Regions from separate parts of the Homo sapiens genome. Here regions 1, 2, 4, 5 and 6 are each linked to region 3. Evidence: promoter capture Hi-C in human tissues and cell types (Jung and others, 2019). All regions are on one chromosome and are shown on one strand. The core of a region is centred on a gene start or on the middle of the fragment in contact, and the rest is flanking DNA. Distances in the headings are between cores, read along the strand shown.

Evidence for each region. Contacts are between HindIII fragments. The study calls those that stand out against the background at their distance.
Region 1: a fragment that was not itself captured here is called in contact with the fragment with the promoter of MSX1 in region 3 in 2 of the 25 tissues and cell types used here (dorsolateral prefrontal cortex and mesendoderm cells).
Region 2: a fragment that was not itself captured here is called in contact with the fragment with the promoter of MSX1 in region 3 in 3 of the 25 tissues and cell types used here (heart left ventricle, mesendoderm cells and thymus).
Region 4: a contact is called between a fragment that was not itself captured here and the fragment with the promoter of MSX1 in region 3, in 1 of the 25 tissues and cell types used here (mesendoderm cells).
Region 5: a contact is called between a fragment that was not itself captured here and the fragment with the promoter of MSX1 in region 3, in 4 of the 25 tissues and cell types used here (H1 embryonic stem cells, dorsolateral prefrontal cortex, mesendoderm cells and 1 more).
Region 6: a contact is called between a fragment that was not itself captured here and the fragment with the promoter of MSX1 in region 3, in 2 of the 25 tissues and cell types used here (mesendoderm cells and thymus).

The regions. Positions count from the first base shown.
Region 1 is chr4:4,640,829-4,644,841 of GRCh38, forward strand. All of the region lies in intron 3 of LOC124900165, which reads left to right. All of the region lies in intron 2 of STX18-AS1 (STX18 antisense RNA 1 (head to head)), which reads left to right. Among named protein-coding and RNA genes, the nearest start is that of SNORD162, 21 kb to the right of the region's middle. RefSeq lists enhancers at 1-237, 1,156-2,073. The HindIII fragment of the contact is 4,554 bases long and covers 71-4,013 here.
Region 2 is chr4:4,612,582-4,616,937 of GRCh38, forward strand. The region is part of intron 3 of LOC124900165; the gene reads left to right. All of the region lies in intron 2 of STX18-AS1 (STX18 antisense RNA 1 (head to head)), which reads left to right. Among named protein-coding and RNA genes, the nearest start is that of LINC03091, 39 kb to the left of the region's middle. The HindIII fragment of the contact is 7,918 bases long and covers 1-4,356 here.
Region 3 is chr4:4,857,468-4,861,799 of GRCh38, forward strand. It overlaps MSX1 (msh homeobox 1), which reads left to right and starts at 2,198. Exons shown (of 2, transcript NM_002448.3): 1 at 2,198-2,901. The coding sequence starts at 2,433. RefSeq lists silencers at 2,020-2,079, 2,100-2,339, 2,350-2,789. The HindIII fragment of the contact is 22,824 bases long and covers 1-4,332 here.
Region 4 is chr4:4,724,616-4,728,729 of GRCh38, forward strand. All of the region lies in intron 5 of LOC124900165, which reads left to right. Among named protein-coding and RNA genes, the nearest start is that of SNORD162, 62 kb to the left of the region's middle. The HindIII fragment of the contact is 4,671 bases long and covers 1-3,925 here.
Region 5 is chr4:4,663,576-4,668,042 of GRCh38, forward strand. All of the region lies in intron 5 of LOC124900165, which reads left to right. The region is part of intron 4 of STX18-AS1 (STX18 antisense RNA 1 (head to head)); the gene reads left to right. SNORD162 (small nucleolar RNA, C/D box 162) reads left to right here and starts at 751; the gene lies at 751-848. RefSeq lists enhancers at 1,636-2,136, 3,039-3,634. The HindIII fragment of the contact is 3,847 bases long and covers 144-3,990 here.
Region 6 is chr4:4,691,250-4,695,682 of GRCh38, forward strand. All of the region lies in intron 5 of LOC124900165, which reads left to right. All of the region lies in intron 4 of STX18-AS1 (STX18 antisense RNA 1 (head to head)), which reads left to right. Among named protein-coding and RNA genes, the nearest start is that of SNORD162, 29 kb to the left of the region's middle. The HindIII fragment of the contact is 3,488 bases long and covers 1-3,481 here.

The DNA.
Region 1 (4,013 bases), core at 1,098-3,597, 220 kb before region 3:
GGGACTGACCTTTCTCCCATTTGCTCCTGCTGAGGGCCCCAGAGGCCAGCTCGGCCTGGCCTGAGGTCTCAAAGGCATTTCTGAAATGCCTCACTCCAGAGGGCACCGCTTCCTGCCACAGTGACATGGGGGATGGTCCGGGGAACTCATCCCAGCTAAGTGACCTCTCTGGCTGGCTGGCCTCTGTCCGATGCCAGGCATCATCTGGAACCTCTAAAAAGTTCATTTAGCACGAGGGCAGAGGCATGGCATTCAGGGTCTGCCCCTTAATGGGAAACCAACTGTCCTTTAGAAAAAGGAATTAATTCAAAATCAGTTCGTGGGATCATAAATCAACAGACACGTTCCAAAAATGTTCGAATCATTGCAACTTCAGGGGGATCTGAAAAGCTCTCCATTGTAAACAGACAAATTGTTTGGGATAAAAGGAGAGAAGAAACTCTGGTGATCCCAACTTCACAAGTGAACTGGCTCTTTTTTAAGCCAGAAGGGGTGTCTATTGTAGGAATTTTTGTTTCCTTTTCCCTTTTGTATCTTTGGGCTTCAAAGGGGATGGCGAGAGGTTAAAACACAGCGAGAGAGGCTGCCCTTGTGATTTTTCAGCCTGCTGGAAACAGAAAGATACCAGGAATCTACTGAGGTGATGCAGACATGGGGTGTTGGCTGGGATTCCTCGCGGAATCTGGGAATCATATCGGTGTGTGGGGCCATGGGGCCTGCGGCGCTTTACAGGTTTCCCGAGAGGAAAGCAAGGCCCAGGAAGCTTGAGCACCTTATCCAGTGCCACCTGGCTACTAAGGGCCAGTCCATAGTGGTGGCTGATTTGCCTCCAAATGAATTTTCTGATGTGCGCATTTTGCTGCAAGAAAGACACGAGTTAGAACGTGCTGAATTTCAATCCCGGAGCCTCCCAGGAGGAGGCGTTCATTTGCTCCCCAAACTTTCACTGTGGTGGCCAGAGTTCTCAGCCCAGGACACCTCCTGTTGAGGACCTGGGAGCTGTCTGGGATGTTTGCCTGTTTCTCACTCCTCCACCCCTTCCCTCCCCTCCAGAGTAGCCAGTTCACCTTTAACCAGTTTCTTTCAGGCGCGCAGATGGTATTTCAACTTCAGAGGGAGCGACAGAGTTGGGGGGCCTTTATGGATCTGTGACCCCCGGCTCTTTGAGTTGCACAAACTAGCTCTCCCCCACCCCGGTCCAGCGGCTGCCAGCCCCAGCCCCCTTCAAAGGCCGGCTGGGTGCCACGCAGCAATTTCCGCTGCCGAATCTGACAGTGACAGTTCACTGGGACCTTCTCTCGCTCTCTCTCTCTGTTCTCCGTGCTGGGGCCTTCTCAACTTTAAGTCTGATAGGGTCTTGTCACAAAGTCTGGCTGGAATGGGCTGAAGGGAGACAGAAACTGATAAATTTTCTTTTGATCTCAGATCTGCAAAGCCGCTCAGAAAAAATAAATCGCAACAGTGGGCCCACGGTGGTTGGTCAGAGCCAGAGAAGCCAGAAAAGGTTCCTTCTCCAGCTCAGGGTTCCCTGATTCCCCCTGGTACATTACATATCAAAAGGAGGCGGGTGCGCTGGGGAGGGATCCCTGGCTCAGAACAGGGCAAGGAACCTAATTAGGTGAAAATCATTTAAATGGTTTTCACAGCATCGTTTGATTTAAAGCATTTATCACCACCTAACGCATAATTAACAGCAGGACAAGCGATTGAACAAAGGCTCTCTTCTACTCAGAGGGATTATGTTAATTTTCATTAATCTTATATATTACCATCTCTTTCCAAATGAATGTTATCTTAAAGGCCCAAATGCCTTCTTTGATCTTGGGGAAAGGAAAAAAAGAGAGAGAGAGAAGAAAAGATTGTAACCTATGTTTGTTTGGAAATGACATTTTAACAACAGGCTCCAAGTACAGGATCAGAAGTTTTTGGTATTCAAGAGTTAATCCAGCCACAAAAAGAAGGAAATTCTGTGTGGAGGAATCAGGCGCTGCGCTTGCCTGGAAACACAGGATTGGGCCAGATGGGTTGTCTGAGGTCTCCTTTAGTTTGATTGTTTATTATGGTTCTAAGGGAATATACTCAGATTCTGCCATAACATTCTCACGTTGTTGGACGTGTCTGCCCCTTGCCATCCTAGCCCAGAGAGTCCCTTACAATAATTTTAATTTAAAAAAAAAATTAGTGAAGACAAGTAGTTATAGAAACTGGCTTAATATGAATAATAACCACACACTGTGCTCTTCATCTGATAATTAATTACTTGACCTGTATTATGTCATCAAATCCATACCACAGCTTGATTGTCATCCTCACATTGCAGATGAGGCAACTGAGCCATGGGGGAAACTGAGGTAGCTTGTCTCAGTTAATATTCGGGATACTCACCCAGGCAGGTGGCCTCTAGAGCCTGTTCTCTTGGCTGCTGGACTGCGCGGCCCGCCTGCGTGGTTGGTCAGGAATCTTGCTGTAACCCGTCTGTCTGGGCTCCCATCTCAGCTGTGTCCCCAGCTTCGTGTGCAAACTTGGGCCAGTGTCTGTGCCTCTGGGGCCTCAGTTTCTTCATTACCAACTTCCAGAATATCGGTCTCCACGCTGGGCTAACAGCTTGCATTTATGGAATGCTTTGTTGAATGCTGGTGCTGTTGTTTCCCCATTTCACAGATGAGGAAACTGAGATCTTAGAGGCCCTGCCAGGTTCGCACGCTGTGAGTTGTGTAGCTGGGATTTGAACCCAGATCAGCAGATGCTGAGCCTTTTCTTAATCTTTATGATCTGTTGACTCACAAAATCCAACTAGGGGCATTTCTAGCTTTAAATATTTTTTTTTTTTGTCTTTCTTTTTTTTTTTTGAGACAGAGTCTTACTGTTAGAAATGCTTGTTCCTAGGTGCCATAAAGAAATAGCACTTGAACATAAGTTTAATTTCCTCAGCAAGGCCTTTTTTTCCTTTTTTTACTTTCTGTAGAAAGGGTACACTCGTCAGCAGTTTTGCCACGAGAGTGCACCGAACAAAGGAGACAGGGTCATTTATAACCTGACGTGTCCACCTTACTGCTGTGTCCAGTTTCCATTGGCTGGAACCGGGCTTCACATTCTGTATTTGTCCTGATTGTTTTGTGCAATGTTGAGAAAGGTAAAAACCTTCAAATGAGGAAGAGGAACATGCTATGACCTAATGCTTGCTTGGACCAGTATAAGCATGCCAGGGCAAATATTTAGGCTAAATTGTGGGAGCCAAGAACATAAAGTACATTGATTTCTTTATTACGGCTAGCAGATATTTAAGAATGTTAGCACAGGTCTTTGAATAAATTTTGCTTCTGAGAGAAGTTACTATTTATTCTTAATTCGATGGGGAGGAAAGCCTTTGAAGAGGAAACTCTACTTTTTGCATTGCTCTATCACCCAGGCTTGAGTGCAGTGGCACAATCTCAGCCCACTGCAACCTCTGTCTCCCAGGTTCAAGCGATTCTCCTGCCCCAGCCTCCAGAGTTGCTGGGACTACAGGCGTGCACCACCACGCCTGGCTAATTTTTGTATTTTCAGTAGAGTTGGGGTTTCACCATGTTGGCCAGGCTGGTCTCGGACTCCTGACCTCAGGTGATCTGCCTGCCTCAGCCTCCCAAAGTGCTGGGATTACAGGCATGAGTCACCACGCCTGGTCTCTAGCTTTAAATAAATAGGATTTCTATGGGGTGGGGGATGGGGGGGATTGTGTTAGATCTATTCAGTATCTTGACTGTGGTGGTAAATACACAAATCTATCCTGATGAAATTGTGTAGAATTTAATACACAGACACTAATACAAGTAATATTGGGAAAGTATGAATAAGATTGGTAGATTAAATCAATGCCAATATCCTGATTGTGATATTATGCTATGGTTTTGAAAATGTTACATGGGTGAGCAAAGTGCATAAGGAGTCTTTCTGTATTATTTCTTACAACTTCACATGAATCCACAATAATCTCAATCAAAACATCAATTTAAAAAATAGAAATGGGTTGGGCA
Region 2 (4,356 bases), core at 832-3,331, 250 kb before region 3:
TGCTCGCTCCAGCCAAGTGCTTGCAAAGTAATTTTATTCCAGGTTTGGGTCCTTTTATGAATGAGTAAACGAGCTTGGCAAGGTTGAATGACCTGCCCACGGGCACTTAGCCAAGACGCAAGCCCCATCTGCTTGCTTCCACACCGTCTGGAAGCCTCACTGGCTGGGTTCAAAAAGGGAGGGGCCAGGCACAGTGGCTCACGCCTGTAATCCCGGCACTTTGGGAGGCCGAGGCAGGCAGATCACCTGAGGTCAGGATTTTGAAACCAGCCTGGCCAACGTGGTGAAACGCTATCTCTACTAAAAATACAAGAATTAGGTGGGCGTGGTGGCGTGCACCTGTAATCCCAGCTACTCAGGAGGCTGAGGCAGGAGAATCACTTGAGCCTGGGAGTGGGAGGTTGCAGTGAGCTGAGATTGCGTCACTGTGCGCTTGGGTGACAGAACAAGACTCCGTCTCAAAAAAAAAAAAAAAAAAAAAAAGAGGGAGGGCTCCTCTCCAGACATCAGGCTAGTTTTGTGCATCCCAAAGGGAGGAAAGTGCTTTCTGATATTGTACTTCCTTTGCAAGACCTGGACTTAAAGTTTGGGTCCTTGGGGATTGCCAAAACCTCTTGAAAATGTAATCTGTAAGTATCTATTAACATTGAGAAATACACATTCCCTTTGATCCAGCAATCCCACTTCTGGGAATCTCTCCCACAGAAATGAAAACCCCAAAATATAAGGACATAGGAACAGGATGTTTATTGCCACACTGTTAGTGGTGGCAGAAACCTGGAAGCAATCTGAAAGTCCACCGGAACTGGAAAGGTTAAATACGTTATGATACATGGCTTTTTGGAATACCAGTCTTTCCAAAATTAGATTTCTACATAATTATCTGGAGGGCTCTTCCTGACATGTTATTAAGTAAAACAAACAAACAAATAACCAGATAACCACCCCCTGAAGTTGGCCAGTAATATGAATTATACAATGCCTCTTAAAAAAAAGACAAGTTTTGAAATGTTATCCTATTTTTATTTATGCATAGAAAAGAGGTGAAAGATATTTACAAACGCTCACAGTTGCTTGATTGAGGAGGGATGAAATAGTGTGATTAAGGCCGACATGCACACCACTGGTAGAGCGCTGAATGCTAAGACCCCACCACTGTTTCCTTCCACTGCTTAACGACTGTGGGAGTTGGTAAATATCCTACCCCCACAGAACTTCAGCTTCAGCATCAGTCCAATGGAGCGAATCATCTGCCTGCCTCATAAAGCCTCCCAATATCCATGTTTTAGTGGGAAGACTTATCACTGCATCATCCGTTCATCCATTCATGTGTTCTATAAGCCCTGGCAGAGCAGCCACCATGGCCTGGCCCTGGGAATGGGCAGAGTGGTTTAGAGATAGTGAAGATTTATCCTGTGCCCCCTAGAAATTTGCAGATGTGCCTCCACTGACTACAGAGGAGAGAGAGGGAGGGATGCTGTTGACTTTGAAATCAGAGAGGGCTTCCTGGAGGAGGTGATGTTTCAGCTGGCGCTTAAAGGAGGAGGGAGACTTCACCAGGTGGAGTGTGATACAGATATATATTCTGAACCAAGGGAATAGTTGAGGGTGAGTATGGGGACTTGAGACACAAAAGTATTTTTTGAAATCTGGGAGTAGCTTGCTGTTGCTAGATTTTGCACGGCTGTACATGCCTGGAAATTATTAAGAGTGGAGGCAGGAAGGAGACTGGAGCCAGGTTGCGTAGTGCCTGACACTAGAAAATATAACTAGGAGAGAGAACACACAGGTAGCTGTCAGGAGCCAGCCACGTCTTAACTCAGTGAGTTCTCACAACAGTTTTTGTTGTTGTTGTTGTTTTGTTTTGTTTTGTTTTGTTTTTTGAGACAGAGTCTCACTCTGTCACCTAGGCTGGAGTGCAGTGGCATGATCTCAGCTCACTGCAACCTCTGCTTCCTGGGCTCAAGCAATTCTCATGCCTCAGCCTCCCCAGTAGCTGGGATTACAGGTGTGCACCATCACACCCAGCTAATTTTTGTATTTTTAGTAGAGACAGGGTTTCACCATGTTGGCCAGGCTGGTTTCGAACTCCTGACCTCAAGTGATCCACCTGCCTCGGCCTCCCAAAGTTCTGGGATTACAGGCGTGAGCCACTGTGTCCAGCCACAACATTTTGATGAAAGGGGATTTGTCCCATTGTACAGATGAGGAAATTCAGGCACAGAAAGATTAAGACACTTGCCAAAGGGCAATTGGCCAGCTAGTTGTAGAAAGAGAATTCCAACCCAGGCAGGCGTGCTCCGGAGGATCTTTGGCTATCACGTCCAACTGTCTCTGTGCTGGGCAGGCTGTGCTATTCTCACAGATGGTCTTGACCAGAGATTTTGAGCCCCATGATAACAGCAGCTCTGTCTGTGTTTCTGGTGGCAAATCCAGCATCTACAGTTGAGCCAGATCCCTGGCAGAGACCTGCCCATTCTTCAGACTTGGAAAAAATGAATGAACTTTGTGAGAGAGGGAGTACTATGCCCATTTGACAGATGTGGAAACTGAGGCCTTGGATAATTAACCATCTGCCCAAAGTCTCCCAGGAGATGGCATGCCCAGGATTTCTCTACTTTCCCCATGCTGCTTCACAGGGCTCACAGCAACTCCGTAACATCAAAGGTGTTGCACCTTTCCAGATGGGGAAACTGGGGTCTGAGAAGTCAGGAGCCTGCCTGAGTTCTCATGGTTAAGTGGAAGGAGAGAATGGTCTCATTTGATGATGTTGGATCTGGCCTAATTCCTCAGGCACGTTGTTCTCGAGACACATCTGGATCTGGTTGGGGAAGGCCCCTCGTGTGGAAGGCTTTCTTTCCGAGTGCCTTTTTATAGACTTGGAATGAAATTCTCCTGTGCCTTGCAGATTCCAGCTTGCTGCTTCAAAGATCATTTCTTCTCCAAACGGAAGACAGAGGCTTTTTGTTTATTTTCACAACAGCAGTAGAGACGGGTGTACCTCTCTTAGACATCTCCATTGCTGTTTGAAAATGAGTCTTTACATGGTTGGGGGCAGGAAATAACAGTTGCAATGGGAGAAACATCGTGAGATGTGCTTTAGCTGTGATCTCACTTAATGCTCCTGACATCTCTGCTGGGTAGGTATTATGCCCCCATTTGATAGAATAGGAGACTGAAGTTCAGAGACAGTATGGTTATTGCCCAAGAACAGATGATGGAGGCAGGCAGGCCGTGATGTTGGAATATGTCTTGCACCTGGTACCCTCCTTAGCTGTTTTCTATGTGGCTGCTCTCTGGGTCCAGGATGCTTTCCACCTCTCTTCTGGTCCATTGCACATTCTAGTCTCTGTGCCTCGGATCTTGCCCTCTCCCCAAAGCCTTCCCCTCGCTGCCTCCAGATTTTCCCAAACTATACATCTCTTTAGCCATTCTCCTGCTTAAAACGCCAATGAGTCTCCAAAAGCCTTGGGAGGAAATTCAGTTCATCAGCTCCACTTCTTCTCTTTGGCATTGGAGCTTCTTAAAAATAAGTTTTCGGCTAGGCGCAGTGGCTGACACCTATAATCTCAGCACTTTGGGAGGCTGAGGCGGGTGGATCATGAGGTCAGGAGATCGAGACCATCTTGGCTAACACGGTGAAACCCCATTTCTACTAAAAATACAAAAATTAGCCAGGCGCGGTGGTGGGCGCCTGTAATCGCAGCTACTCAGGAGGCTGAGGCAGGAGAATGGCATGAACCTGGGAGGCGGAGCTTGCAGTGAGCCAAGATAGCGCCACTGCAGTCCAGCCTGGGCAAAAGAGCGAGACTCCGTCTCAAAAAAATAAATAAATAAAAAATAAGTTTTCATAGGAGTCTCCTTTTAGAGAGAGGATTTTATGACAGAACAGATCATGAGATAGAACAATAAAAATTGGCCAGGTGTGGTGGCTCACACCTGTAATCCCAGCACTTTGGAAGGCCGAGGCGGGTGGATCATCTGAGGTCAGGAATTTGAGACCAGCCTGGCCAACATGGTGAAACCCCGGCTCTACTAAAAACACAAAAAATTAGCCGGGCGTAGTGGCAGGCGCCTGTAATCCCAGCTACTCGGGAGGCTGAGGCAGGAGAATCGCTTGAACCTGGGAGGTGGAGGTTGCAGTGAGCCGAGATCGTGCCACTGCACTCCAGCCTGTGCAATAGAGCGAAACTCCATCTCAAAAACAACAACAACAACAAAAAACCCAAAAATTAGTCAGGCATGGTGGCATGCATGTGTAGTCCCAGCTACTTGGGAGGCTGAGGCAGGGGAATCGCTTGAACCCGGGAGACGGAGGTTGCAGTGAGCTGAGATCTGATCACTGTACTCCAGCCT
Region 3 (4,332 bases), core at 948-3,447:
CCACAAAGGGAGATTCTGGCTGGGTGCGGAGGGGGTTGTTCTGACGAGAGTTTGATTAGAACGGGAGCAATAGAAGTTCGCCGTCCTGGAATCGCTTGAACCTGGGAGGCGGAGGTTGGAGTGAACTGAGATCGCGCCATTGCACTCCAGCCTGGGCGACAAGAGCAAAACTCCGTCTCAAAGAAGAGGAAGAGGAAGAAGAAGGAGGAGGAGGAGGAGGAGATGAGGAGGAGAGGAGGAAGAGGAGGATGAGGAGGAGGAGAAAAGAGGAAGAAAAAGAGGAAGAGGAAGAAGAAGAAGAAGAGGAAGAAGAGGAAGATGCTGTTGTTCGCTGTCCTGGCTGGGCTACCAGCAAGGTATTTGCCCTACAGCCTTGCTCAGCCTCAGCGAGCTGAGCTTCAAAATTGGGTCTTAAGGTCTTCTATCCTTGTACCCTCTCGGGCAAACCTCCGGAGGCCCCGGTGCACCGCGCGTCCAGCCGGCCCAACTCGAGCTAGAAGCCCCAACCACTGCCCAGTGCCTGAGTTGCAGTCTTGGGTCCTTTAGAAACCTGGAGATGTGCGTAAAATTCAGATGCCGGTATTCCCGAACTTCCCCAGGCCTCAGCATATCTCGGCGGCCTGTGGACAGATGGGAGGCTACCAATCGCTCCGGCGTCCGCAGCCCGACCCCTGCCGCCAGACCCCGGACGTCTTCCGGATAATAAAGTTCCCGCTCTAATTCATTTTCCCTAATCTGGACGCCCCTAATCTACAGCTTTTATTGCGCCCAGTTAAAAGTCGAGGGAATTCGCTGTCCCTCCGCGCTCGGATAATTACCCCTAAATGGCCACGGCAGCCCCTTGTGTTTCCTGGAGATTAGAACCCCGCAGTCATCAATGGCAGGGCCGAGTGAGCCGCCAATCACCTCCGCTCACTCCCTGAGAGCCGCTGGCCTGGGCCGCAGGAGGAGAGGCCATAAAGCGACAGGCGCAGAAAATGGCCAAGCCCCGACCCCGCTTCAGGCAGATCTTGCATCTCCCCTGACCCCAACTCATTTTTTCTGTCTTTATTATTATTATTATTATTAACAGCAAACATTAAATCACGTTTTCTCCGAAATTGGCAAAAGAAGAGTTCTCAAGTCCCACACTAGAGTCCACCTCCAGGAACTTTCCTCTTTTCCCAGCCCCCTCCCCCAAATGTGCCTCTCCCCTCCAGGATCAGCGGCCCAGAGATAGGGACATGTCATTGTTTCCGAGGACGCGTTGTTTGAGGTCACCTTAAGGCCAGATCGGTGTTTCATTGACGATTCTGTTGGTTTTATTTCAGTAAGTTCTATATCAAAAGGATCTGGCAGCTCCTTTCCCCGCCCGGGCGCTATAGGTGTTGTGACCCTTGGGACAGAAGTTCAGAGCGAGGGTGGGGGGGGGGGAATACACATCGTGTATGAAAACCGACTGCAGATTCTAGATAATCTTACGTATTCTCACATCCTTGGCACTACAGGAAGCTAGCTTCTTCCCGCAAGGTTTACTCCAGCTCTAAGTTAGAGACAAAGGCCCACTTTTACCTCGAGGTAAAGTTTACAAGATTTCAGAACAGGAAGAAAATGAAGGTTTGGTTTTGTTTCGTTTCTTGAAAAGAAGTTAATAGTATGTCTTTCTCCTAGGATAAATAGCCATGCGTATTTTAAAAACTATATATAAAAGGAATGTGTAAGAAATAACCTCAACTCAAATTATTGTGGTAGAAGAAGAGGGGGGGTCAGACAGTGGAGGGGGGCACAGGGAAACCCAGCCACAGACTAAAGAGAAAGGTAAAAGAAGCAGTAGAGGAGAGAAACAAGGACGGGGAAAAAAAGAGGAGCGGAAAAGAGGGCTGAGGAGGGGAGGGGAGGGGAGGAGAGGAGGGCAGAAGAGAAGGAACGAGAACAAGGGAAAATCCCCCGGGAACACAGAAAGATAGAGACCCAGGGGACTCCCGCAGAGAGGGCCTCTTGGGCTTCAGCGCAGAGGAAAGTTTCCCGGGCACCCCCTCTCCTCCCCTGCCCTCCGCCGCCTGGGCCCTGCCCTGCGTGCCCCCAGGCCCAGCGCGCCTCCGGGCGAGTCCCCAGGAGCGCGGCCCAATGGATCGCTCCGGGCCCGCCCCCTCGCGCGCTGATTGGCCGCCGCCCCGCTGGCCTCGCCTTATTAGCAAGTTCTCTGGGGAGCCGCGGTAGGGCCCGGAGCCGGCGAGTGCTCCCGGGAACTCTGCCTGCGCGGCGGCAGCGACCGGAGGCCAGGCCCAGCACGCCGGAGCTGGCCTGCTGGGGAGGGGCGGGAGGCGCGCGCGGGAGGGTCCGCCCGGCCAGGGCCCCGGGCGCTCGCAGAGGCCGGCCGCGCTCCCAGCCCGCCCGGAGCCCATGCCCGGCGGCTGGCCAGTGCTGCGGCAGAAGGGGGGGCCCGGCTCTGCATGGCCCCGGCTGCTGACATGACTTCTTTGCCACTCGGTGTCAAAGTGGAGGACTCCGCCTTCGGCAAGCCGGCGGGGGGAGGCGCGGGCCAGGCCCCCAGCGCCGCCGCGGCCACGGCAGCCGCCATGGGCGCGGACGAGGAGGGGGCCAAGCCCAAAGTGTCCCCTTCGCTCCTGCCCTTCAGCGTGGAGGCGCTCATGGCCGACCACAGGAAGCCGGGGGCCAAGGAGAGCGCCCTGGCGCCCTCCGAGGGCGTGCAGGCGGCGGGTGGCTCGGCGCAGCCACTGGGCGTCCCGCCGGGGTCGCTGGGAGCCCCGGACGCGCCCTCTTCGCCGCGGCCGCTCGGCCATTTCTCGGTGGGGGGACTCCTCAAGCTGCCAGAAGATGCGCTCGTCAAAGCCGAGAGCCCCGAGAAGCCCGAGAGGACCCCGTGGATGCAGAGCCCCCGCTTCTCCCCGCCGCCGGCCAGTGAGTAGCCAGAACCCAGGCGCAGAGGGAGGGGGCCGGGTGGGGGCCGGGTGGGGTGTGGGACCCGAGGGCTCCTGGTGGCCTCCGGCGCCTGCGTACCTGCAGCCGGTGCTAGGGAGCCGTGGGCTGCAAGGCCGGGTCTTGCGCCTCCCTCCACTCCCACCCAGGAAGAAGGTTCCAGACCTCCTCGCCTTGGCCCAGAGACGCTGCGGGTGGGAGTTAACGGATAGGACACCGATGTCTGGGCACCCTGTCCTCCTGCCCCCACCAAACGACCTCAGGGGTCCATGATCCCTCATCTGATCCCAAACTCTGTTTCATCGGCTTCACCCCAGCGGATGAATGTGTGTGGTGCGGTATCTTCCCTGCACCCGGAGTTTCACTTTCTCGCAGTAGGAGCTGGTGTCCCCCAGCCCCTCTTCCCTTTCAAGTACCTCTTTGCCTAGAGGTTCCGAAGCTCCTACAGAATTCTACCTCCCCATGCCCTTTGAGTTTGAGGCAGATAGTTGGTGCTTTGGGCGGATGGATGATTCAGGGGTGGGGACATTCAGGTTCCAGTGGAGGGGGCGGGGCACCAAGTCAATTAGGGGAAGGCGCCCCCGCTAATCCTATGGGAAGCTCCCAAACGTCTAGGACTGAGCCATTAAAGTGGACTCCAGGTGCCCAAGGCGGTTCGCTCCAAGGCCTCACGGCCCCCTGGCTGCTCTACTCAGAGAACACGCTCGGAGATATTTCAGGAGCACGGGAAATTCCCAAGTTTTCCTCGTTTCCTCCGATTATTTTGCTCGGCATAATAGCAGCCAGATTTCAATGGCGTGATGCTGAGGAATGATTTTTATCTGGGGATTAAACGTCTTTGAAAGGCCAGTCCCTCCCTAAGCCTAATGGCCGGAGAAGGTGGCCCCGCTCTGGGTTGTCGCCGCTGAAGGGAGTGACGTTTCTCTCGGCGCCCGCCCCTCGGGCGGCCCGGCGGAAAGCTAGTTGGGGGCCAAGCGCTTCCCGGACTCCCGGTGGCCTCCAGCAGGGAAGAAGCGGGGTGTTAACACGAGATTTCGTTTGACTCACATCCTGGTGGTCTGAAAGTCCAAAGGATCGTTGTGTTTTCTTTGTTTTGTTTTGTTTTTTCTGTTTGTTTGTGGTTGTTTTTTAGAGAGGTGTGAAAAAATGCATACTTAGGCAAAACCCGCGTGGTGAAACATCTTCGATTTGAATTCACTTTCTGCCGGGAAAGCTGCTGCATAGGCAAAGTGTCCTTTCCAACGCTTAGGGCCTTGGGCCCCAAGACCCCGAAGTCAAAGCGATCCCGGCTGTGTTGGGATAATTTGTTCCACATTTTATCCGGGGGCAGTCCCCAGCAGACCCCATCCCCGACCTGCACTAGTCCTGCGCTCTGATGCTTCTTCACTGTCCACCCTTGAGGTTTATTTTGAA
Region 4 (4,114 bases), core at 340-2,839, 130 kb before region 3:
ACCATCCAACTGCTTTCCCATAAGAACCAGATGGAGTCAACTCGAGTTCCTCATAAACTTCATTCAAATACAAAAAAGGCAGAACAGAGAAAATTATTACTTTTCCCATCTGGAAAAAGCATGGCAATTAGGATTTCTGGGCCTCTATCCATTTATCATAAAGAGATGAGGAGGGAACAATATGATAAATAATAGATATTATCAAACTTTCATTTTAGTATCATGGTTGACTTCTGCTGGAAGTTAATAGCTTGGCATTGCTAAGCACACTCCCTAGAAGCCGTTTTTTTTCTTGGCTGATCAATCCAAAAATGGTTTTAAAAGTTTGGAGTGTAGTCTGGTCCTAAGTTAGCTAAGATGGGCTGAGGATTAAGGCACAAATCCAATTTTTCTTTTCTATTAAGAAATAACACTTGTATTAAAACATTATTACAGATTATAAGGGGCATATTAACTTTGCCACTAACCGGTTATGTGACCTTGGAGAAGCAACTCACCTTGGTGTTCTCATTGTGCATGTAAAACACCCACCTCCCAGGGTGAGCGGAGAATTCAATCAGGTGAGAAAATTTATGCAAAGTGCTTTTAGCAGGCCCAAAGCTGATCTGTCTGTGATGGCTTCTGGTTACTAGAAGCTAATCTGGGATTCTTGGCTCCTAAGAGGTGGGCAATTCATCTCAGAGCAGATCATCTTTGTCCAGGAAAGAATCCTTTGGCAGCCTCTCTTGGTTTGTCAGTGCAGTATAAGGCAAATAGACCTTCATTTTTAGACAATGGTGTGGAAGTTACCATCTTGCATACAAAGCCCAGGGACCCAGTCTACTGTCAGGAAAGATGGAGGTCACCTGGTTATGATCTGCAGGTAGAGAAAGCATCAAAGACTGAAGGAGAACTTGTGTGACAGTCAGGAGAGTCAGACTGAAGTCTCAATATAGGGATAGAGGGTTCTTCAGAGACACAGCACCAATAGGATGTGTGCGTGTGTGTGTGTGTGTGTGTGTGCGTGTGTGCATGCAGAGAGAGAGAGAGAGAGATTTATTTTGAAGAACTAACTGACACAATCACAATTATGGAGGCTGGCAAATCCAAAATCTGCTGGGTGGGCCTGCAGGCTGGAGACCCAGGGAAGAGCCAATGTTGCAGTTTGAATCTGAAGACCATCTGCTGTCACTACTCCCTCTTGCTTAGTGGGGAGGTTAATTTTGTGTTCTATTCAGGCCTTCAACTGATTGGACGAGGCTCACTCTCATTATAGATGGCAACATGCTTTACTCAAAGTCCACCAACTTAGATGTCAACATCATCCCCAAACACCCTCATAGGAACATCCAGAAAAACGTTTGACCAAATATCTGGGTACTATGGCCCAGCCAAGCTGTTGTGTAAAATGAACCATCACAGAGTGTTCACAGGGAAGGAGCTGGTTTGGGCAGAAGTTGAGATCTATTCAGAAAATTATTTTGGACCCAGTCACCCTTGCAAATGGTGTGTTTGAGGGAACAACAGCTAAGCAAAAGATATGGGAATGTGAACTGCAAGATTTGTATTGTTGATGCCTAGAGTGAGACAGCATGGTAGCCTCCATAAGTAGGTGCAGCCCAGCAGCAGGAGCAAGTGTGTTAGGCAAGCTGCACAGAGTTTGTCTTCAACAGTGACACCTGTGGCCATGCAAGGCAATGACAGCAGTAAATAGATCAGACTCCGCTTCTCCAAGTGAACCTCAGAAGCAGGAATGACCCCTTCTAGACTGAGCAAGCCTCTAAGTATTTCAAACGATTATGATACAGGTGCAGGGTGGGTTCAGGTGTGTGGAAAGGTGACCTCAGAGGGAAAAGAGCTTCTGCTAGTTGGACACAAAAGCCTTTGGTGATTGACTGGCAAAGTTCAGAGGTGTCCACTGTGCCCGGAGTTGGTAAAACAAAGAATACAGGTTGCTACATAAAAATTAATAAGGGATGACTTCCTCCCCTCACTTTCCAGCATGCATAAAAATAGCAGAAGCTTTAGCAGAGTCCCCCATGCTGTAGGTGACAGAGCTTCAGCAGTGACTTCTTCTTGTTTCCCTTCTGGCTTTTCCCAGGAGGCAGCTTAGGTTTGAAGCAGCATTTCACTTTCCATCTCTAAACAAGTACCATATGTTTACAACTTTGGGAGTTCTCACTCCTCTTTCTGGAGTCAAGGGTGTTCCCTGGGTGGTGAGGGAAAGGGTGTGTGCTTTGGAAGGTCGGGAAGGTGACATTTATCAAGTGCCTGCCATGTGTCAGGACAGAGCTGGCTGGATGTTTAACCTCTATTATATCTTGATGTGTTTTTGATGTGTGCCCCACCCAAATCTCGTGTCGAATTGTAATCTCTAGTGTTGAAGGTGGGCCCTGGTGGGAGGTGACTGGATCACGGGGGTGGATTCTTCATGAATGCCTTAGCGCCGTCCCCTTGGTGCTGTTCTCATGATAGTGAGTGAGTTATCACAAGATCTGGTTGTTTAAAAGCATGCAGCACATCTTCCCTCTCCTCCTCCTGTTCCAGCCACATGAAGACACCTGCTTCTGGTTTGCCTTCCACCATGAGTACAAGTTCCTTGAGGCCTCCCCAGAAGCAGAATCACCATGCTTCCTGTACAGCCTGCAGAACCATGAGACAGTTAAACCTCTTTTCTTTATAAATTACCCAGTCTCACGTATTTTTATAGCAATATGAGAACAGACCAATACATATCTACATATCCTCAAACCACCCGAGGAAGTGGGTCCTCATGACCTATTTTACATGGGGAATTTATAAATTACCCAGTCTCAGGTATTTTTTATAGCAATATGAGAACAGACTAATACATATATACAAATCCTCAAACCACCCGAGGAAGTGGGTCCTGATGCCGTATTATATATGGGGAAGCTGAGGCACAGAGAACTTCAGTAACACATTCATGGTCACCAACCCCACAAGCATCCATCAGAACCTGGAAAGGAGATGATTTTCTGCACCGAAGCTAACCTGGAAATGTATGAATTCTGTGGATACTTTCTTAGGAACCATGGGAATGCTCTCATCCCCCAGAAAGAACCCCTTGGCATGCAGACAAGAGTCTTTCCACCACAACAATTTGCTTTCAGGATTCCTTCTCTGAGGCCAGTGGAGGAACATGGGTAGGATTATTTTTCATGGCTCAGTTACCCAGCAATCTGCAATTGCAAGATGGTGGGAAGGACTCCTCTTACTCTGTGGTAACCTAGAGCAAATCCTGGGCATCTCTCTGAGGACTGGGCTTAGTGACAGGTAATGGGCTTTTCCCACCTCCCCCTCCTGTGCTGTAGAACCTGCAAGTGTACCCTATAACAGATTTCATCACAGAGAATCATATAAAAATAGCAAAACCACTTATGAGCCTGTTTTGGAAAGGAAATAACTTATAGTTTGGGAAAGGTTCCTTATATTAAAATTACCAAGCTGCTTCCTTCCCATAATTTTTTCAAATTTAAATAATTTTATCTCCAAATAAGAAAATCTTGCAGGCATGAGGTAATACTTGCCTAGGATTTGAGGTTAGATGTTCTTGATTAAAAGTCTGATGTACTCTGTACAAGACTGGGCAAGTCAGTGAATTTCTCTCAGCCTCAGTTTCCTCATTTCTGAAAGGGACTGTAATGTCTGTGCCTGGTTGCTGTGAAAGCCAATTGCATTTGGGGAGGTGAAAAGTCCATAAATTGTCAAGAGCTGAACTCATGTGAGGTATTATTATTATTCATAGTAACAATATATAGATCTTAGGATATCATAAGGGAAGTTTTGCCCTTCTGGGGACTGGCTGAGTAGATCACAAAATACATGGCAAAAGGCCGTACGAATTCCTCAATAAAGGGTTCAGAATCAGCACCGAAGGGCACTGGCCAGAACTGAGCTCCTTTTCCCCCTGTGGCTCTGAGCTGGCATGGGTAGGGGCTGGGGTGGCTGAGGCTCCTGCCCCCAATCACCCGGGGCAGCTTTGCAAATTGGGTGGGATGTCATGGCTTGCCACAGAAGTGGGGGTGCTGGGGTTAGGCGCAGGGTCTCTGGAGTCCACCTCCCTGGATTCAAAGCCTGACCCTGCTATTTTCTAGCATTGAGGCTTTGGGCA
Region 5 (4,467 bases), core at 817-3,316, 190 kb before region 3:
GGGCAACAAGAGCGAAACTCCGTCTCAAAAAAAAAAAAAAAGGAAAAATATATATAATTTTCTTAATTTTCTTACATGCACACACCAAAAAGCAAGGGCTCATGAGGCATGTTTCATGTCCAGCTTAAAGGGAGCCCAACATAGAGAATTTACAGGGATTTTCACCTTTATTTATCTTTGCTCTTTTAGGGGACTGAAGGCCTTGCTGGTTTCCTTTTCTCCTATTTCTGTTCCTATGTGGGGATATGACCTTTGAGGTGAAGTTGGGATTCATATGGATGCACATTTGGGGAGACTGTTGAGATTTACTCAGTTATTTATGGAGCATTTATTCATTTTAAGCATTTATTCACTCAACACGCATCCCATGCGTCATTGGCTGGCAGAGGGCTGGGGGCCCAGGGGTGGGTGGTGCATGACCCCTGCCCTCAGGTGGTTGTGAGGGAGTCCTGTGAATGGACAATGACAGTACTGTGTGACAGGTGCTATGCGAGGGGCTGTGGGGACACAGAGGGAGGCCCTGAAGCAGGCTGGATGGGGCTTGGGGAAGGTCTGTTGGAGCCTTGAAGCAGGGTCCTTTCACTTGGGTCTTGCCAGTTGAGTGAGAGCTGGCCAGGTGTAGAAGCAGGATGGATTCGACAGGGAGGGAGAACAGACTAGCTGAGGGCTGGGGGCTGGCAGGGCATCCCAGTCCCAGTCCAGGAACATGCAAAGACCCAGGGTAGCTGAGGCTAAGCGGATGGGGCCTGGGGGCTGGTGATGAAATGCAAGAGGTAGCCGGACACTCGTGAGCAGGGCTCATATGTCCAGCTGAGCGAGTGCAGGCTTCACTGCTCATACTGAAGCCCTACTATGTGCCAGTAAAGAGAGCAGGCAAAGCTGTGGACAACCTGGTCCCTACTCCCCCTGTTGCTGACAGTGTGCAGGACATGTCACCCCAAGACATAGCACCTCGGAAATGGAGAAAACATCAGAAGCAGGAAGGCCACTGTCTGCCTTTCCCAGGCCTTGCTGTATGACCACTGGCATGAAAGGATTCTCTGACCCACTCCCCTGAAAGTAGAGACCCTCATGTGACAGGTGTCCTGACCTGTACCCAGAGGAAAGGAATGAAGACACAGAACTGCCAAGACGCATCTGAACAAACAGGGCCTTGCTGAGCACCTCCAGTTTAGGACCCTGAGATCACACCCCCTCTCTCCAATCACACGACTGTCCACTCTCCAGCAAACCTAGGCAGAAAAATGCATCGTTTTCCTGTGTCTTTGAGTCTTGATTTCTGAAGGTTCGCATGTCACATAAAACTTAGATGGAATCAATGCATCGCACTTTTCTCTTGTTAATATGTCTTTTCTTATAGGGGTGTCTGCTATGAAGCTTGCCATGGGGGAGGAAAGGGTATAGTTTTCTCCCCCTGCAATGCTCAGAGTGCACTTGGGAAACCATAAGCAGGTGATTATCATTGAGGCTTTAGGAGGTACGTTAGTTTCCTGTGGCTGCTGTACAAAGTGCCACAAACTGGGTGGCTTAAAACAACAGAAATGATTCCTCCCTAGTTCTGGAAGCTGGAAGTGAAATCCACATGTCCTGAGTCCATGTTCCCTCTGAAGCTCTTGGGGGTGGGGGATCCTTTCTCTCCTCTTCCAGCCTCCGTGATTGCTTGTAATCCTTGGCCTTCCTTGGCTTATGGCTGCCATCTCTGCCTCTTTCTTCACATGCCTCCTTCTTTGTCTGTTTCTGTGTCCAAATCTTCCTCTTCTTAACAGGACACCAGTCATGGGATTAGGACCCATCCTAATTGATGTGACCTCATTTTACCTTGATTGCATCTGCAAAGGGCCTATTTCCAAGTAAGGTGACATTCACAGGCACTACAGGCTAGGATTTGAACATATCTTTTGTGGAGACACAATTCAACCTGCAGTAAGATGCTAACCAAGCACACCCCTCTCCTCTGAATCTGCCTGAGCTCTAAATCCACTGAAGTCAGGTGGACAGCACCAAAGTATCCACTGTGCTCTGTCTAGAAGCTGGTGACTGTGTGGGATAAGTGCTGCACCAGTGCACCTCCTCTGGCCACCCCAGAATCAGGCAGGTTCACCCACGCAGTCCAAGCCACCCTGCAAGGCAGGAGGGATGAGAACGGCCATGAATGTCCCTTTCATGGAACCTGGATCTTGCAGCCAGGACAGGAGGTTGCCCTATCCTGAAAATTCCAGATGATGAGCATGGGCTGTGCAGTGCGCAATGGGAACAGAGGACAGACACAGACATCCCCAGACATGGTGCTTGGGTCTGTAGAGGGGTCCACAAAAAGAGACGATTGTAAATGGGACAGATAGGAAGGAGTCAGAAAGAGTGGAAGGTTGCAGCAGTCTTGGCAGAAACCCTGCAGTGAGAACTCCACTGGATGGGGGAACAGCATTCCCCCTGCCCCCCACAACACATTCCCCTCACATCCTTGCTTCTGGGACGTGTTCCTTTCAAATTGTCAAAATGTCAAAAGGAGGCAAGCATGCATGGTCGGTTACGCGTCCAAAATGAAATCGAACAACCCAAGGTCCTCCTGAGAACCAGCTAGGTCCCGACCACTTGCGCATTTGAATCATTTCTGATCTGGGTTTCTGGCCTGGGCTCTGCAGGCCCTAGCACCCAAGGAGGCCAACTCACTGAAGTAGCCTACGCTTCAATGTTTGGCTGTTTGCATTTCTTGACAAAGGAAATTTGTTGGGCTTAAGTTGCCAAGGGTTTGCATCTGGATCCTATGATGTTTGGCTTTGGGAGGGCTGTGCGCAGAACTGGCTCTGGGGCCTCCACCGGCCTCCATGTAATTAACTTAAGTGCTTCGAAGATGAAAGCTTATTTGCCTGATCCTGGATTATGGCATGTGCCGTGAAGGTAGGCAGAGCAGACCTCGCCAGTTATCTCTCGCTATTGAAGTTTCCAAAGAAACCAGTGGTGGACAGTGGAAGTCAGGAAGTTTGGGCATGTTGGAATTTATTAAATTTGCAGTTAAAAAAAAAAAAAAGTTCTGGTTGCCAGCACAAAGAGGTTAAGTGGAAACAACTTTACATAATGAAGTGGTTAATCATATTTTGCTTTAGAAACACTAATATCATAAATTGGCCTCATACTTTTGTGCTTCCAGTTTCAACAATAGAGCAAAGACATTAATTTCCTGGTTTGGTATAACTTCTGGGATTTTCCTTCTGGGCCTCCTCCTCCTTCTCCTCCCTTCTCTCCCCCCTCAGCTGGAGTGAGGAAGATAGCTTTGATCCTAGATGCTCTGGAGGCCTGGGGGAGGTGAAAGGGGGGATGGTGAGGATTCCTACAGGTGATTTTTAGGCCTGAATTCCATTGTGACAGCAATGATTTATTTTAACTACTAACCCAGGAAAGCAGGCGCCACCAGGATGAATACCTCCATCAGCTTCTAGCAGACTAATTTTACTGTTTATGAATCACTAATATGTTTAAGAAAAAAAAAGGGAGTACTATTTTAGATAACTAAAAGTAAGACTTCGAGAAAAGACCTCATGGTGCTCAAACAGTTCCACATGGGAAAGATGACTTTGGATTACAAGATAGAGAACACATGGGGTCCAGAGAGCTGCCCCCAACCTCCGCAGCAGGCAGAGGCTACTGGCAGATGAAACACTTTCATCTCTCCCAGGGAGATAAACAGGCCGGTCTGGATGGGCCTCTTTATTTACAAAAGAAAATTAAATCCGTTTTAACACTTGCACCATTCATAGGAAACACATGTTGGCTGGTAATTGTTTTGAACTCATTTTGAGCTGGGCTGCACCACGTTGGGCTGCCCTTGCGTTTTCGCACTGGTTTGAGATGGCCGTGGAATTTGCAAGGAATTTTCTTCCCAATTCCAGAGGCTCCACGAGGGGGCCGTTCCTTGGCCAAGCTGGCAGAAGAGCACTGTTTGGCTTCCTGCCTCCTGGAGGGAAGCACTTTCCCCTTATTGGGAGAGGGCTGCCCCCAGCGCCCCTTGGCCCCGCATTCTTATCGGGAGATTGGAAAGAATCAAAGGGTCTCACGGCCCTAATTGAGCCTGAAGGGCTTCCTTCCCTCCCACCTGGGAGTTTTCTCAGAAGAAGAAATAAAAGGTTGGGTGATTTTCCCAAGAGTTTCTGTTGGAGTTTTACAGCTGCAAGGAGGCGTCATTCCGAATTTGGGTGTCACCCAGCTTTTCGAATGCTAATATGCATACGATTTCCTGGGGATCTCGTGAAATGCAGATTCTGATTCAGTGGGTCGGGGGTGGGGCCTGAGATTCTAACATTCTCGCTGATTGGGCTGATCAGAGTCCCATACATGACGTTCTCAGACCTTCCCTTCCAGCGCATCAGAATCAGGGCTCGTTAAAATGCAGATCGCGGGGCCCCTCCTGCAGAGGCTCTCATTCCACAAGTCTCGGGTGGAACCTGAGGATTTGTGTCTCTAGTAAGCTCC
Region 6 (4,433 bases), core at 488-2,987, 170 kb before region 3:
AGTGTCCCTCACTTGCCTGGGTCTCTACCCAGGTCTGAGAAAGGCCTTGCGATTTTGTTTTCACAATTTTCTGGGTTTTGTTTCTCTTTCTTTTTCTTTTCTTTTCTTTCTTTCTTTCTTTTTTTTTTTTTTTTTTTGAGAGAGTCTCTATCTGTCACCCAGGCTGAAGTACAGAGACGCAATCTAGGCTCACTGCAACCTCCGCCTCCTGGGTTCAAGCGATTCTCCTGCCTCAGCCTCCTGAGTAGCTGGGATTACAGGCACCTGCCACCAAGCCTGGCTAATTTTTTTGTATTTTTAGTAGAGACAGGGTTTTACCATGTTGGCCAGGTTGGTCTTGAAAACTCCTGACCTCAGGTGATCTGCCCACCTTGGCCTCCCAAAGTGCTGGGATTACAGGTGTGAGCCACCACACCCAGTCTTGTTTCTTAATAAGCTCTTCCCCATTCCCCAAATTGTATAAACTCTGGGCCCCTCAAAATCTGGCTCAGGTTTGGCCTCTGGGGACCCTCACCCACTCTGATGGCTTTGCCCACCAGCTGCTTGGGCAAAAACCTCTCAGATCCATTCAGTCAGCTAAGCCTGAGCTTTATAGCTCAAGCCACCCTGAGGCATTCTCCCAGCAGTGCCTCAGGACCTCCCGCTCAACACTTTTTCCTTCCCTAAACCAGCTCTTCACCCTGGGTGTTCCCTTTGTTAAATGATATCACTGTCCACCCAGTGGCCCAAGGCAGACATGTGCTGCTCTGTGGAGTAAAATGCCCCTGAGTGTTGAAGAAAATAAGTGAGAATGAGGCACATTTGGTAATCCTGTCGCCAGAAGGCTGGCCCAGGGGAAGGCATGTCTGGGCTCAGGGTCTGAGGGATAGCACCTACCTAAGTGACTCCAGGCAGTAAATGTGATGTAGGGACCTTGGAACTGGCCCCAAAGTCTGATCTCGATGGCAAGGTGTATTAGTCAGGGCTCTCCAGAGAAACAGAATTCACAGGATGTGCGCACACAGACATACATACACGCAGACACACACACAAAATTTATTATGAGGAATTGGCTCACATGATTATGGAGGCTGCGAAATCCCCCACACTGGAGACCCAAGAAAGCTGGCGGTAGAGTTCAGGGCAGTCCAGAGGCCCAAGAACCAGGAGGGCTGATGGTGCATGTCTCAGCCTGAGGGCAGGAAAAGCCCAAGTCCCAGCTCAACCCGTCAGGCAAAGAAAAGGGACACATTCTCCCTTCTTCCACCTTTTGTTCTATTTGAGCCTGCAACAGATTGGACGAGGCCCACCCGCACTGAGGAGGCCCGCCTGCCTTTCTCAGTTCACCCATTTAAATGCTCATCTCATCCAGAAACACCCTGGCAGGCACACAAAAAACAATGTTTAGCAGAATATCTGGACACCCCTTGATCTAGTTAAGCTGCCACATAAAATTAACCATCACGGCCAGGCGCAGTGGCTCATGTCTGTAATCCTAGCACTTTGGGAGGCCGAGGCGGGTGGATTATTTGAGGTCAGGAGTTCAAGACCAGCCTGGCCAACATAGTGAACCTTGTCTCTACAAAAAATACAAAAATTAGCCGGGCATGGTGACACGCGCCTGTCCATGTGTCACCCACATGGACAATCCCAGCTACTCGAGAGGCTGAGAAGCATGAGAATCAATTGAATCCAGGAGGTGGAGGTTGCAGTGAGCCGAGATTCTACTACTGCACTCCTTGGGTGACAGAGTGGACTTGGTCTTAAAAAATAATAATAATAATTAACCATCACACAAAGTGGGAAGGAAAGTGGAAACATGTCACCAGGTGAGTACCCAGATAATTGAAAGAGGTGCAGGCCAGGCGCAGTGGCTCATGCCTGTAATCCCAGCATTTCGGAAGGTCGAGGCAGGTGGACCACTTGAGGTCAGGAGTTCAAGACCAGTCTGACCAACAAGGGGAAATCCTATCTCTACTGAAAATACAAAATTAGCCTCGCATGGTGGCACATGCCTGTAATCCCAGCTACTTGGAAGGCTGAGGCAGGAGAATTGCTTGAATCCGGGAAGCAGAGGTCGCAGTGAGCTGAGATTGCGCCATTGAACTCCAACCTGGGCAACAAGAGCAAAACTCTGTGTCAAAAAAAAAAAAAAAAAAGTGCAGTCCAGTGGCAGGAAGAAGTTGAGAATGAGTCAGAGGTGAGGCTTTGAGTGCACATGTGGCCTGGAGCTCCCTCTGCCTCTTTCTTTTGGGGGTTCCCCTTTTGCATGGCACCTGTTGCTCACAGGATGGTATCTAAATTTAAATTCCCTCCAAACAGATCCTGAGACAAGGATTGGTTCAAGCAGTTTATTTGGTGATGATCCAGAAAGCACAGGGAAGGAAAGGAAAGTGAGGCAAGAAGGGAGGGAAAGTCAATCAAGGGGGGAGATGGTCAGGTCTTCAGTCTTCGCTGAGGGCAACCAGGGCTCAGCCCCCTGGGAGCCTCTGCAGGAGGATGTGGAGGTGCAGCTCAGAACTGTCCCATGCAGAGTGAGGAGCATAGCGTGTTTATCCCCCAACTCTTTTCCCTCATTGGTTGAGGGTCACTCCTAGGATGTTCACTTCCTGGCACTTCCGACTTGCTCTGTGTGCCAAGCCAAACAAGCCCCTGCAGCCAGAGAGAGGGGAGCTCATGGCTTGTTTGAGAGTGATCTGCAGTGAGCTCTGGGCCGTGGAATGCTGCGGGCCAGGCATTGATTGCTCCTAAAGGCTGGCCGCCTTCCCTTTGGTGCAACCAGTCTGTGGGAATGCCTACCTACTCAACCTTGATGGTGGGAAGTGAGGGGGGCACACCTCTTCTCCTCGGGTCACTAAATGGCTTCTGGGGTCGTGCCATGGCCAGGAGCAGGAATAGTGCAGGCTGAGAGGAGACTCACCAGCTTTGAGTTGACAGACCTAGATTTAAATTCTGGAATCACCTCTGGAAAGCCTGTTGCAATTTCCTTATTTTTGGAGCCTCGGTTTTCTCCTGTGTGAGGTGGGGCTAGGCCCAGCATCTGCTCTGCAGGCCTGTTGTGAGAATCACAATGGATCCCCATCAGCCCCTGTCCCCTAGTGGTTGTTGATGAATAGCAACAGGGATTGGAGGATTCTGCTGACTCAGTGGCTTCCCCCTGCCAGCCCTGACCTTGGCCTGAGGGCTTCCCCCAGTTCCCAGCTCCTGCTGCCGCTCAGCTCTAACTCTCCTTCCTTCGCGTCTGTTTAAAGTGGGCCTTCCAGGGTAAAAAGTCCATTCTGTGCAGGCTGCAGGAATCACCACGTCTGCTGGACAAGGACATCAATGTCTTTGAAGTGTCCTGGCTGGCAGAATTCCCTGCCGTTTTGCAGCAGCATGGTTCTCTCTTCTCAGCTCATGGAATGACAAGCTTGCAGGAGGCCTCAGTGGCCTTGGCAGCTGGCCAGTGTTTAGACAGTTTCTTGTACTGTTTTAATAAGAGGCATGGTGGAACTGGGCCTTTGCCTCATTACCTCTCCTGTGACTGGGCAGCCTGGCAGCATGGAAGCCCGTCATCTGGAGCTGCGTGCAAAGCTCCCCTCAGCTCCTGAAGAAGCTTTATAGGTGAGGAACCTTCCAGAAAGCACCAGGGCTCTCTGTGCCCTCCCTTTTTTTGTAGGCAGTTTTCTTTTGAATTGCCTTTTTGGGCTTCTGAGCCTCCAGGATGGCTTTGGAAAACATTTGCCCTGGAATGTTATCTCTCACCAACATCCATAAACCATAAACCATAAAAGAGACAGAATGGCCCTCACATGTTATTTTGGAGACTTAGAGAGATTAAGTGACTTTTGCCCAGTTGCACAACCAGTTAGTGACAGAATCAGAGCTAGACCTTAAGTTTGCTGACTTCAAGTCTTCCAGTATCTGGGTTGTGTTAGAGTCCAGGTGAGGGTGAGACTCACCTGAACCCACCTTCCTATCTTTTGAGGATTCATGAGATGAAGACTGACTGAGGCAGCACCACATGTAGCTCAAGCCAGAAACAAAGGTGTTACCTCCCTTCCCTACCCCAGACCCCCAAGCACAGGGCAGGGTCTGTGGGTGGTATAATCTAGTTTCTGTGCTACAAGTTTAGGAAGCAATAAATGACACCAGGGAACTTAAAAAGAGGGAGGAGCATAGTGAAAAGGGCCAGAATCTCTCAGTCTTGGGCCTAATTAACTGTGTGATCTTGAACAAGTCACTTCCCTACTTCAGGCTTCTGGTCACTTGAAGAGGAATGGGTGGATTGAGCTGGCCACCTCCTTGTAGTTCTGGAATTCTGTCCATCCATTCCCTCATCCATCCTTCCATCCATGCATGTATCCATCCATCCATCCATCCATCCATCCATCCATCCACCCTTCCATGTAGGTATCAAGCCATCCATCCATATTTCCATCCATCTACCCATCCATCCATCCATCCATCCATTC